Regions from separate parts of the Homo sapiens genome. Here all the other regions are linked to region 1. The links are contacts of gene promoters, found by promoter capture Hi-C in blood cells and fetal thymus (Javierre and others, 2016). All regions are on one chromosome and are shown on one strand. Each heading gives the region's core, a stretch centred on a gene start or on the middle of the fragment in contact. The rest is flanking DNA. Distances are from core to core; before and after follow the strand shown.

Region 1 (2,700 bases), core at 20-2,519:
AATAAAAGGGATATTTAGCCAGGAGTAAAGTTAGCTTAGGGAGACCATGATAAATATTTTCAAAATATTTGAAGGACTCAGTTGTGGAAGTGAGATTAGATTTATTGTGTAAAACTCCAGGAGTCAAAAGCAATAGAGAGATAGAAGGAAATGCTTTTCAGCAGTGTTGCTCATCAATAAAGGGAGTGAACAGCCACACAGAATGGAAGGTTCCCTGTCCTTTGAGATATTTAAGCCTTCAAGTAAATTATGGGTGAGGAGTTTCAAATCTAGAGTTGAACCAGATAAGAAAGTCTCTTCTTCCGGTAAGATATTATGGACCTATAACATCTGTGTACTTAAAAGTAGATTGGGAGTGAAAGGCAGACTTTTGATGTTCTGTACACTGTTGAAACCCCTTAGCGTGGTCCTCTGTAACCTGCTCACCCTGCCCCAAGGAGGCAGCTAGCCAATGCCACCAGCCCAACGGAAACCCCAGTGCTTTTCCAATGGGGAAATGCAGTCACTTTTCTTTGGATGCTACACATCCTTTCTGGAATATGTCTCACACACATCTCTCTTTATCACCCCCTTTTTCAAGTAAACCAACTTCTTGCAGAAGCTGACAATGTGTCTCTTTACTCTCCACGAAGATTCTGGCCCTTCTCTTCACCTGTCAGAAGTTTAGGATTCCAAAGGGATCATTAGCATCCATCCCAACAGCCTGCACTGCATCCTGAGAACTGCGGTTCTTGGATCATCAGGCAACTTTCAACTACACAGACCAAGGGAGAGAGGGGACCCCTCCGAGGTCCCATAGGGTTCTCTGACATAGTGATGACCTTTTCTTGGAACTTTTACAACCCCCAGGACATTTCCAAACTTTGAGCAGGGCTCTGGGGGCCAGGCGTGCGGGAGGGAGGACAAGAACTCGGGAGTGGCCGAGGATAAAGCGGGGGCTCCCTCCACCCCACGGTGCCCAGTTTCTCCCCGCTGCACGTGGTCCAGGGTGGTCGCATCACCTCTAAAGCCGGTCCCGCCAACCGCCAGCCCCGGGACTGAACTTGCCCCTCCGGCCGCCCGCTCCCCGCAGGGGACAGGGGCGGGGAGGGAGAGATCCAGAGGGGGGCCGGGGGAGGTGGGGCCGCCGGGGAGGAGGCGAGGGAAACGGGGAGCTCCAGGGAGACGGCTTCCGAGGGAGAGTGAGAGGGGAGGGCAGCCCGGGCTCGGCACGCTCCCTCCCTCGGCCGCTTTCTCTCACATAAGCGCAGGCAGAGGGCGCGTCAGTCATGCCCTGCCCCTGCGCCCGCCGCCGCCGCCGCCGCCGCTCAGCCCGGCGCGCTCTGGAGGATCCTGCGCCGCGGCGCTCCCGGGCCCCGCCGCCGCCAGCCGCCCCGCCGCCCTCCTCCCGCCCCCGGCACCGCCGCCAGCGCCCCCGCCGCAGCGCCCGCGGCCCGGCTCCTCTCACTTCGGGGAAGGGGAGGGAGGAGGGGGACGAGGGCTCTGGCGGGTTTGGAGGGGCTGAACATCGCGGGGTGTTCTGGTGTCCCCCGCCCCGCCTCTCCAAAAAGCTACACCGACGCGGACCGCGGCGGCGTCCTCCCTCGCCCTCGCTTCACCTCGCGGGCTCCGAATGCGGGGAGCTCGGATGTCCGGTTTCCTGTGAGGCTTTTACCTGACACCCGCCGCCTTTCCCCGGCACTGGCTGGGAGGGCGCCCTGCAAAGTTGGGAACGCGGAGCCCCGGACCCGCTCCCGCCGCCTCCGGCTCGCCCAGGGGGGGTCGCCGGGAGGAGCCCGGGGGAGAGGGACCAGGAGGGGCCCGCGGCCTCGCAGGGGCGCCCGCGCCCCCACCCCTGCCCCCGCCAGCGGACCGGTCCCCCACCCCCGGTCCTTCCACCATGCACTTGCTGGGCTTCTTCTCTGTGGCGTGTTCTCTGCTCGCCGCTGCGCTGCTCCCGGGTCCTCGCGAGGCGCCCGCCGCCGCCGCCGCCTTCGAGTCCGGACTCGACCTCTCGGACGCGGAGCCCGACGCGGGCGAGGCCACGGTAGGTCTGCGTTAGGGTTTGCGGAGAACCCGAGAGTTTGCGTTAGGGTCTGCGGCGGACCCGAGAACCTGCGCGGGGGAAAGTGTGTGTGCTTTAAGCTTGTGTACGTGGGATCCAAAGTTACTGAGCTCAGTGCACGCTGCTTTGGAGAAAAATCTTCTTCTTTTTAAATAGAAAGTTGTTACTAGAGAGGCAAGCAAGTTACACGAGTGAAGGGCCCGGAGAGGTGCCCAGTGAGAGATCCCGAAATCTATTTCAGACTGGTTTCCTCTGGGGCAACCAAGGGGTCTTGAACCCTGCCCAGTCAGCGGGGCTCTGGAGAGTATGAGTTCATTTTGGTCGGGAAATGCTCGTTTCTTTCCCCAGCTGATTCATGGGACTCCAAACAGATTCTGGGACACTGGTGATCAGTCAACCCAGCCTTACTTTCCTGGAGTGTTCATAGTCTGCAGAGCACCAGGCGCTGTGAGCGACTTTAGAAAAAAAGTGTCAGGGACTTTAGTAACCAGGCTCCAGAGCTTTCAGAGTTCACTTGAAGTTGGTCAGACTTGAGATGTAACGGGAGATTAGAGTCAGTTAGATCACAATCAAGCAATGCAAGGCTTGTTTCAACTTTATAAGCTCTTCATTCCTAAAATCTGGTCATGAGATACTGCAAACTAAGTTTTTTTTTT
Region 2 (2,700 bases), core at 4-2,503, 150 kb before region 1:
AAAAAGATGCCTGTGGGAGCTGAGAGTGGTCCATCTGACAGCCAGCAAGGGCACAGACTCAGTCCTACCACTGCATGGATTTTGCTAACACCTGAATGAGCAAGGAGATGGATTCTCCCCAAGGGCCTATAGCAGGGAACACAGCCCTGCTCCCACTGAGGTTTATGTCTGGTGAGACCTTTCCTCTTCTCCCCGCAGAACTGTAACATCATAAATTTGTGTTGTTGTAAGCCACTAAGTGTGTGGTCATTTCTTATGGCAGAAATAGAAAAACAGCACACAATGGTTTCCTAAAATTGCATGCAATATTTTAGAAATTTGTATATCACCATTTTTCTGATGAAAGAGGCTATTTTATGAGTCTTAAGAGTCAATCACACACAAACTCAAGAACTACTGAACTCTTTTATCCTTTCCCATATCATAGCGACAAAAACACCCTCATGCATGGTGAATGCAGAACATTTTTCATGTCTTACATTCAAGTGAGGAAAGTGTTTTGTGACAAACAACGAGATGCAAGAGCACTCAGAATAGTGATCTCCTTTCTGCTGCCTTGCCCTCTGTACCTCTGAGCGAGGTCATCTTGGCTTTCATTTACTCTTTCCTCGGGACTGTGGGGTATTTTGGTTAGTCAGGATGGACTGTAAGTTCCTAGAGGACAGGATCTTTTTTTTTTTAACTCTCAAGAGGCACAGTACTTTGTGATGGTAAGTTTTGAAAATAATATTCACATGATTGAATCAAAAAGGTAAGTTTCTATCTGAAGATAGTGAGCTGGTCTGCATACCATTTGAGATTCTGTCCAGAACTATGATACCGTTTATATATGAAGGTATTCTTTATATGTCTACGTCTTATTTTCTCTACAAAAGGGGAGTTCCCTGGTTTCTGTGGGAAAAAAAAATCTTAGTGCTCTCAGATTAATTTACAAAATGAGAGTGTGGATCATGGGAAAATCATTGGTATAGAAGCTTTGACATTTCTCACTGAACACCTTGGCTCTCTAAGGAATGTTTTCTATTTCAGTATGGCCGAAATCCCTGCAGGCTCCAGTGGAGCATGGCTGAATATTCAGAAATGTAATCAGAAGCTTAGCGATATTTATTAACAAATCATCATGGACCCAACTTTATTTGGATAAGCCCCAAGATTCACAGATAGAAAGAAATCCTAGGGGCTAAAGGACTACATTAAAAATTAAAGAGGAGAAAAAGGAGGAGGGTGAGAACTTAATAGTCTCATGTTTGTTATTGTTTTAGAATGACTTGAAATTGTAGAGTGATTGAATGCTGGCAAACAACACATCAGGAGAAGAGGATGCTAACTGAGAATGACTGCACATGATAACTTGCCTCATGTTTGGTCTTTTAAAAATATCTTCATAGAATATCAGGAATTAATGAAGCTTTGATAAAATGTGCAAAGGTTTCTCAATATAGAGGGACACTGAGCACCCAGACAGATGGAAAATTAGAAAAAAAAAAAGCCTAAAGAAGTTTGAAGCATGGTGAAAAAATAAGAAAATGAGATTCAACTTGAAATAATGTGAAGGAACATCTCTGTAGAAAAATAATCAGAAACAGACATTCAATGGAAGAGAAACAATTGGAAAGCACTCAAATCACAGTAAATTAGATGAAACTGAAATGTTATGAGGATTCAGGGGGAAAAACTAAAAATCATCTGGGTGGCCCATCATATTACGAAGCAAGAAAGTGTACCTGAACTGGAAATCACTTTGAGATAGAGCTCTTTTTCTCTTTTTCTATTTACAAACTCTGAGGAACTGGAAGGAGTTCAAAAAAGAACAGCAAATACAATTAAGAGTCTGGAGGGATTGATTTATATAGTGAGAGGAAAGAAATAAAGTATGCAGTCCTTGGCTAAAGACTTCTAGGAGAACATAATTGTCAAAAGTCTTTAAAGGATTTACGTACTGAGTCAATAGAGGGTGATTTAGTTCAATAAAAGGGAATCCAGGCAGAAACACAGTGAGATGAATGTAAACTCTAATGCTGAAAATATTTTTCTAATTTTGTTAATATGAAAATCTAGGCTGGGTGTGGTGGCCCATGCCTGTAATTTCAACGCTTTGGGAGGCCGAGGCAGGCAGATCACCTGAGGTCAGGAGTTCAAGACCATCCTGGCCAACATGGTGAAACATGTCTCTACTAAAAATACAAAACTTAGTCGGGCATGTTGGCCGGCACCTGTAATTCAGCTACTTGGGAGGCTGAGGCAGGACAATTGCTTGAACCCGGGAGGCAGAGGTTGCAGTGAGCCAAGATCACACCATTGCACTCCAGCCTGAGCAACAGAGCAAGACTGCGCCTCAAAAAAGACAAAAAATAAAAACAAAAGCAAACAAACAAACCAAAAAACACTAAAGTTCTGCCTGGGTTTCTTGGCTTTTTTTGGGTGTTTTCAACCCATTTTGAGACTTCTGTTAAGTGACCCAGGGACTTGTTTGTACCCCTGTCATGTAGTGTCTGCGATGTAGTGTCATTTAAGTCACTATTTTTAAAAGGGAAAGAAGTAATATAAGAAAAAAAAACGTGTATGCAAGAATCTGGGAGACTTTCCCATTGATTACAGCACTAGTAATATTAGTGTCTTGTATTTCCTGAAACAAAGCAGCATGACTAAGAAGTAAAGAAGGGAAGGACTCCACCAGTGACTGCTACTGATAGATACCAA
Region 3 (2,700 bases), core at 98-2,597, 130 kb before region 1:
CTCTCCATGCCACAGGTCCTTTCAGGTCTTCTGCTCTTACTTAAAAACTATTTTAATCCTTAAAACAACTCTGTGAGCTAAGCATTATTGTTATTCCAGTTTTCGAATGTGAAACTGAGGTGCAGAGATGTTACATAACTTGCTCAAGATCACACAAGCTGTAAATGGCAGACATGGAATTAAAACCTAGACAATCTGGCACTTGAGTGAATAAGCTTAGCCAGTTCATAGACTAGAATTCCATGAGTTTGAGATAATATAACAATGATCTGAAAGGTTAACAGTGTTTAAGGAGACTAAAAAAAAAAAAAAGAGCAAAATAGTAAAATAAGCATATAGAATATAAAATATATAAACATAAATCAACTATATAAAGGATATAGAAATAAATAAAGTAGTATAATATATGAATGTATATATATAATTATATATTTTATATATAATCATATATAAAATCATACACTTATATAAATATATATTATTTATATGTAATATAAAATATGTATAAAATATATAAATAAGTTTATAAAGTATATAAAAACATAAAATAGTGTATTTATATTACACTGTAAATATTTTACTAATATATTTTTATTATTTCCCTGAGCTTTTCTGTTATTGTCAATTTTTTTTTCATTTTACTGTGCTATCACTGAATTTTCAAAAGCTTACTTCTCTTATAATTTGAAAAAAATTCTCACTAACAAAAGACTTCGTTTTACTAAAAGTCACTGTGTGGAGGGGTTTATATATATATGTATACACACACACCATATATATATAAACCATATAGATATATAATCATATATATAAACCATATAGATATATAAGCCATATATATACATACACACATTAGATAGATAGATTGATTAGATAGATAGATCAATCGATCGATCGATCAATCGATAATACTACACTGTACAGTCATCATCATGAACTTGGTTGCTTTTCCTGGTCTGAAATAGTCATTTCCCTTCTTAATGGTCACAAACAGAAAAATAATCAGCATTCCTAATCCCTGTGGGAGTATTTTCACAAAAGGTCATACATACATATTGAAATAATTTTAAAAATGAAAATCAGAGTGATCATTGAAAACACTGAAGACTCCAAAGTTTGACATTTTTCTCATCATAGATTACACATACAGTACTAACATTTTTTAGGTCACTAAACATGACTAATATGTTTTGAATAATCCTTATTATTTTCTCCAATTTACTGTTTCTTTTAATAAATTCAACTGAATTATTTTCATCTGAGCAAATTCTCTCTGATTTTTCAGGACTTCTTTTCTCCTAACACCCCCAAACAGCATTCAATCAGCCTCATATTCTATTAAAATGGGCCTTTTAATGAGAAATCGATATGCATGGATTACTGATTTTGTACCAGACATTTTATATATATTGCTATAAGAAGTCAGGTCTCGAAGAGATCAATTAGCTTGCTGAAGGATTCTTTATGAGTGGACCTAAGGACCTAAGGGTCTGTGTAACCATAAACTCAAGCTCTTCAGCAGGTAAGCGACCTTCTGAGATAATAATGGAGGAAGGAGGGAGGCATTCCAGTGACATTTGGAAGAAAGAATCTCTTCCTCCTTTGAATGCCCAGAGCACTTTACCGATAGATATTTATTTATTTTTTCATTTTTTTAAATAATGTCAACTTTTATTTTAGATTCAGGGGGGTACATGTGCAGGTTTGTTACATGGGTATATTTCATGATGGTGGGGTTGGGGCGGGATTAATCCCATCACCCAGGTAGTGAGCATAGTACCTAATAGTTAGCTTTTCAAGCCTTTCCTCACCCCACCACCCCTTCTAGAAGTCCCCAGTGTTTATTGTCCTATCATTATTTAAATCCTCTTGTTTCTCCTAACAAATATTAATTTTAATCATAATAAAAATCTCTACCATTATTGAGTTCTTACTTTGCTCCTGAGCTCTTTTGAAAGGGCATTGCATGCATTCATACATTTAATTTGTATAACACATTTATGAGGTTGCTCCTATTATAAGCTTTAGTTTATCAATTTATCAACGGAGAAGAAAAAGATTAAGTGACTTGCCATGATCATACCTGGCACATAGCAACAATGTTACCACGATTTCCTAAAGATATCTATGAACAAATAAACACTTTTATACATATCAATATTACTTTATTAGAAAGTAGAAAAGTCTCCTCTAAATTGCAAGTGTGTGATGCCAGGAGTTTGAGACCAGCCTTGTCAACATGGCAAAAACCCCGTTTCTACTAAAAATACAAAAATTAGCCGGGCATGGTGGCACGTGCCACCGGCTACTCAGGAGACTGAGGCAGCAGAATCGCTTCCACCCGGGAGGTGGAGGATGCAATGATCAGAGATCTTACCACTGCACTCCAGCCTCGGTGACAGGAGGAGACTCTGCCTCAAAAATAATAAATAAATAAATAGCAAGTGTGTTATCTGATATATTTTATATCCTCATAGTTTCCTGATTTTTTTCAAAGTTGATAGCAATAAGGTTATTGAGGGAAAGAACTTTTTGGTAATGATTCTAAAATGTGAGGTAGTGAAGAGCTGAGAAGAGTCGTGTCAATTCTTATTAGCAGCAAATAACACTTTTCATTTACCCATTTGTTTCTTACCCCCTTTCAATTTCTTTATAGTATGACTCTAATCAGTTTCATTTTCAAGTCTCTAGGAATGTTTT
Region 4 (2,700 bases), core at 157-2,656, 230 kb before region 1:
AAATATGTCTCTGATGTGACCTGAGCACGCCCCTGTCCCATGAGACTGGCTGCCTGTCAGTCAGGATTTGGAGGAAGCTTGTGTCCAAGGTGTTTACCTTTCCTGTGTGATGAATATTCTTGCTATCTAAACCAACCTCTCTTTCAGACTAGTTTGAGGACATGCTAGTACATTAGAGATTGGTGACTGCTGCAATTCCCTTGCCATCCTTCTCTCTCTTAGTGCCAAGATTTCCTGATGACAATATCCAGGTATGGACTCCTTTGGATAATATTTGTCCTTCCACTTAATTAGTATCGGAATGGTGGAAGACGGCAATACAGATTGTGACTGGCTTAAGTGAAAATCCATTTCTGTGTATTATGCTCTGAGCTTCTTCACACCTGGGAAGTTGCAGAGCAGTTAAAGACAAAGTCCAATTAGAGAGAGCAGAGAATTTTACGGAATACAAACACTACCATAGCCAAAAATGTCTTTGATATCACATGTGATGTAAGGGCAAATAATGACATCAGAATAACTTATGGGTAGATTATAGACAACTACAAATTCTTTGCTACTCCTTCCACTAAGAGGGTGAGCTCTTATTTGCTTCTCCTGGGATCAGACAGGCTTTAGCCACTTGTTTGACCAATAGAAGGGAGTGGGTCTGAGGCCAGGTCATAAGAAGACTTATGGCTTCTACCCAGGCCTCCTGGAACACTCATTTCTGAAACCTATCTGCCCTGCTGGGAGAAAGATAGAGAGGCTCTCATGGGAAGGAAATGTCATTTCCTTCTGAGCAACTTTGGAAGTGGATCCTTCAGCTCCTTTCCAGGTGACACTATGCAGCACAGAGACATAGAGTCATCAAAGAGCACTGCCCAAAATGTGCATTCATGAGCAAAGTAAACTATTTTACTTGATTTAAGCTATCAAATTCTAAGGTGGTTTATTACACAGCAGAATATAATAATACTTGGTCATAATATTTCGAATTGCATAACAATCTCTTTAAATCATTAAAAGCTAACAGTTAAGATTTAAACTCTCCCAAAGACTAAAACTATAATGAGAGCTCAGCATTGAGAAGTAAGGTATGAAATATATGTTATCACTCCTTCCAAATCATGTTTCCTTTTTCTTCTTCTTCTTCTTTTTTTTTTTTTTTCTGAGACGGAGTCTCCCTCTGTCGCCCAGGCTGGAGAGCAGTGGTGCAATCTCAGCTCACTGCAACCTCCGCGTCCTGGGTTCAAGTGATTCTTCTGCCTCGGCCGCCCAAGTAGCTGGGACTACAGGCACGCGCCACCACACCCAGCTAACTTTTTGTATTTTTAGTAGAGATGGGGTTTCACCATATTGGCTAGGCTGGTCTTGAATTCCTGACCTCGTGATCTGCCTGCCTTGGCCTCCCAAAGTGCTGGGATTACAGGCGTGAGGCACCGCACCCGGCCCAAATAATGTTTTCTCTGAGTATACATATAAGTTGATGGAAGAAAAACTGAGAAATGTGATAGGAATCAACTGTTGTTTGATCCTCTTGTAAGAAAGATTAGTTAGATGATAGATGACTGGGAAGGGCAGTTGTTAAATGGTCGAATTAAAGGTGAACGTAGCTAAAACAAATCTCTGTAGGTCCAATGAAATTTCATTACTGAATAATTTTCCAAACTGCTTTGCAGGTGTTACTTGTAGAAAATGACTTAGCTTTTAGTCATTTATGCATCGTGGCCCATACCTGTAGTCCCAGATACTCAGGAGATCAAGGCAGGAGGATTGCTTGAGCCTGGGCAGTTGAGGTTGCGGTGAGCCATGATCATGCCACTGCCTCATGCCTGGACCATAAAGTGAGACTGTCTCAAAAAAAAAAAAAAAAAAAAAAAAAGAGGATTAAAATAGTTTTAAAAAATTTAGTTTAAAAAAAAAGAAAAAGAAATTATACTGGTGGAAGTAATGTAGCCATGGTCACTATCTACAGTGACAAATGGCAAAATTGGTCATAAAAATAAAGTGACAGGACTGTAGTATGAGTTAATAAAGATGATCAAACTAATTATAATCCCTGGCTAATATGGAGTTGATTTAGTCTCATTCTTGCCAATGGCTAAAGCAACATTGTTCAATAGAAATATAATGCAAGCCAAATTCAAAACCACATATAAAGTTTTAAGTTTTTTAGCAGCTACATTAAAAAGTGAAAAGAACTAGGTAAAATTATTTTTAATAATATATTCTTAAATACCAGCTCAAGTGTCACAGGTATTCCTAATGAAGTTAGGTAAAAGCAAGTTTATATTTTTTTCTATATCACTAAAATAAAAATACTTCTAGGATATTAATAAAATGAAGACACATCATCAAGAATGTAACTAATTGATAGTCTAAAGAATAACTTGTCTTGACACATTTTTTCATTATGTTTTTGGTGCTTGACACCATTACAGTTCTCTAATTTATTGTGTTATGTTTCAAATTAAAACTTGTCTATTTTGAATAAGCAAAATATTATTTTAGAAATAATTGCCCAAAATAAAAATAAAGTAATATTATAATTTCAGCACATGAAAGCATATAAAAATAATCTAGAGCATATTTTCAAGTTTATTCTATGAAAAAATACTTCTTAATTTAAGGCATAACATTATAAGAATCAAATTGTAAGGAACCAAAATTGTAAAAGTGCCTTCACAGTCACTTTGACTAATTGATAAGGAACGATTT
Region 5 (2,700 bases), core at 54-2,553, 170 kb before region 1:
AAGGAAAGGGAAGGAAAGAAAAGAAAAGAAAAGAAAAGAAAAGAAAAGAAAAGAAAAGAAAAGAAAAGAAAAGAAAAAAGATGGGGGAGCTCTACAGAGCTGATTCAGATCCCAAGGGAGAGAACCTGCTGGACTAATACTGGTCCCTCAGAAGCTTAGAGAAGTAGCCCCGTGGAGCTGGGATTGAGCTGTAAGAGGAAGGAGAGCCCACCAACTGAAGCATATTCAGGTTGATTCTCAAAATGTGGCAGGGATGGGGGATGGGGGAATTGCCATGTTGCCACTGCCAGTGGAATGAACAGCCTGAAGGGTGACTGATAAGACAGAAAGCAATCAGAAATCAACAGTTCCTTTTGTTCTTCTTCAGCCTACTACTACCGTCTCTACCACCCCCTACTGGCAGGGCTGGAGCTATCTGGCAAAATAAAAAAATGTTATTGGTAGAGTGTCGACCACAACATCCCAAAACAATATATAGAAGGCAAGATTTGAAACTGAGGAAAAGTAGCTTGCTGACTACCACAAGGATCTTACATATGTTACCAAATGAGTCACTGGATGATGCATTTTCTAATTTACAGTTTTATAGAATCTATAGGATCCTATTTTAATGGGGAATATTATTAACATAATTAAATGTGAACAAAATAAAATCAATTTGAAATCATATCCCCTAAACTAAAGATGGTGTGTATTCTCATTATGAAAAACTGAGATTAAAAACAGGAAAAGCCAAAGTAGGTTTAAACTGTAATAACTGCTTGTGAATACATATATCTTAGATTTTCTGGATAGTCTTGATTTCAAAAATTAAGCTTTAATGTTGAAATTGTTGAAAATGCTTGAAAAATGTTTCCTTGTAAATATGTGTGTGTCCACAGGTTGGTGTGTGTGTGTGTGTAAGTGTTTTTAATGCGTATGTAGAAAAGTGATTGATACTTTGGATTGAGTAAAAATAAATTATTTTAACTGAAGTCTAGCTTAAATATTCTCTGGTCTCTGGCATGGATCCTTAAAAAGTCAACTACAGTTTTTAATGGAGAGAAGTGAAGATGACATCTGGCTGATGCAGGCATATATTTTGGTTACATTCCACTTCACACTGGAAGAAAAAGGAATATTTGGGCAAATAATATAAATGAACTAAAAATATAACTTTAGTTGTCATAGGCAACCTTTTTCTTCCAAGGAGAAGAAAGGATAAGGATAAGAAACACATGGAAAACAAGATACATGTTCTGAAAGTACACACAAGAGAAATCTAAGAATAACATGAACACATATGCTGTTTGCAACTAATCAAGCAAATTACCATCCAAAAACGCTTAATGTTCCTCAATGAATTCTCATTTACTTCTAAGAGTCGTTTTTGTAGACCCATTTTCCTTCCAGCTGGCAATGAAAAAGTAAAGTAAAAACTGTTAGGAACAAAGGATAAGAAGAGTAATTTTCAGCAATTCCATTGAGGCACAGCAGCACAAATCACCCTTCTTCAGTTCCACTTAAAACACTATCTTGTTCAAAGGAAACTATTTTGTTAAGTAAGTCATAGAATATGTGTTAGCATATATCATGGAAATCATGTATCATGCCCCCACAATTTTCTTGTTTTAATTTGTCATTCACTTCAGAATCTGAGACTAAAAAGTATGTAAGTATAGATTTTAAATTTGTATTTTTGTAAATGTTCCAATTTCCTCATTATTGGTTTCAGTTATAAATAAATATCTACTAATGCTTTATTTATGTTGCTACCTAACTCAGGTAACTGCTTTAACTCAACAAGCTTTTGCTTTGTTTTGTTTGATTTTTTTGTTTGTTTGTTTGGCTTTGTTTTGAAGTTAGAAACATAGGAACGCTAAACTTAGAAGTTTATATTATATAATGCTATAAACTCCTAAATACTTATTCTATTATTTAAAATGAAAAGCCGTATGAGATTTAAGAGGGGGGGCTTTGGGAGGGAAAATGCATGGTAAAGTAACAAAGTTAGAAATACACAAACAATAGAAGGATTAAAAAAAATTCTCATCATATATGAAACAATGTGATAACACAACAACAAAACAAACAGAAAACAAAGGGAAGCAGTTGATTCTGGTGCTATACTTTCCTTGAGTTATGAGTGCTGAAAAAGCAATGCTATCTTTCTTCCTGTTTATTATTACTTCTACTTCTCTAAATCACATATTGTATAATAATCTATTCACTGAAATTTAGACCTTTTATGGCCTAGTATTGATCAATTTTGTGAATATTCTGAGAATAAGATGGGGGAGAACCTTTATTTTTATCTGTATAGCTAGTGGGTCACACTTGTTACCTCTTATTTCATATTTTCTATTTTTTTGTTCTGTTTTATCTGTCAATAACAGGAGCAAAATATTTCCATTATGGTCAGTTTGGGACTTACTCCTTTAGTTATACCTACCTTCTTTGCCTTATATTTTTAGGCTATTTTAGAAACTCGAACTTTAAAATTTCTGCATCCTTTCGGTTAACAGAACCTATGAAAATAGCAGGTTCTATTAACTATCAAATAGAAGGTAATGAACCTTCCTACCTCAATAATGTTTTGTGTTTGTTTTTGTTTATTTTATTTGGCTTTAATATTATAGTGGTTTTATTTCGGTTAGTATCTGCCTGGTGTATGATTTTACATTCTTTAAATTCAATTTTTTATTATCCTTATGCTTTAGG

Evidence for each region. Contacts are between HindIII fragments. The CHiCAGO score rates a contact against its expected background, and 5 or more counts as called.
Region 2: a contact is called between a fragment that was not itself captured here and the fragment with the promoter of VEGFC in region 1, in 2 of 17 cell types (endothelial precursors and megakaryocytes). The highest score is 6.5, in endothelial precursors.
Region 3: a contact is called between a fragment that was not itself captured here and the fragment with the promoter of VEGFC in region 1, in 2 of 17 cell types (megakaryocytes and endothelial precursors). The highest score is 9.2, in megakaryocytes.
Region 4: a fragment that was not itself captured here is called in contact with the fragment with the promoter of VEGFC in region 1 in 1 of 17 cell types (endothelial precursors); the score reaches 7.5 in endothelial precursors.
Region 5: a contact is called between a fragment that was not itself captured here and the fragment with the promoter of VEGFC in region 1, in 2 of 17 cell types (megakaryocytes and endothelial precursors). The highest score is 10.0, in megakaryocytes.

What each region holds. Positions count from the first base shown.
Region 1 is chr4:176,791,491-176,794,190 of GRCh38, reverse strand. It overlaps VEGFC (vascular endothelial growth factor C), which reads left to right and starts at 1,269. Exons shown (of 7, transcript NM_005429.5): 1 at 1,269-2,026. The coding sequence starts at 1,880. The HindIII fragment of the contact is 3,942 bases long and covers 1-2,126 here.
Region 2 is chr4:176,941,702-176,944,401 of GRCh38, reverse strand. No RefSeq gene overlaps it. Among named protein-coding and RNA genes, the nearest start is that of LINC02509, 67 kb to the right of the region's middle. The HindIII fragment of the contact is 315 bases long and covers 1,096-1,410 here.
Region 3 is chr4:176,922,659-176,925,358 of GRCh38, reverse strand. No RefSeq gene overlaps it. Among named protein-coding and RNA genes, the nearest start is that of LINC02509, 48 kb to the right of the region's middle. The HindIII fragment of the contact is 1,355 bases long and covers 670-2,024 here.
Region 4 is chr4:177,024,405-177,027,104 of GRCh38, reverse strand. No RefSeq gene overlaps it. Among named protein-coding and RNA genes, the nearest start is that of LINC02509, 150 kb to the right of the region's middle. The HindIII fragment of the contact is 2,653 bases long and covers 80-2,700 here.
Region 5 is chr4:176,961,990-176,964,689 of GRCh38, reverse strand. No RefSeq gene overlaps it. Among named protein-coding and RNA genes, the nearest start is that of LINC02509, 88 kb to the right of the region's middle. The HindIII fragment of the contact is 971 bases long and covers 818-1,788 here.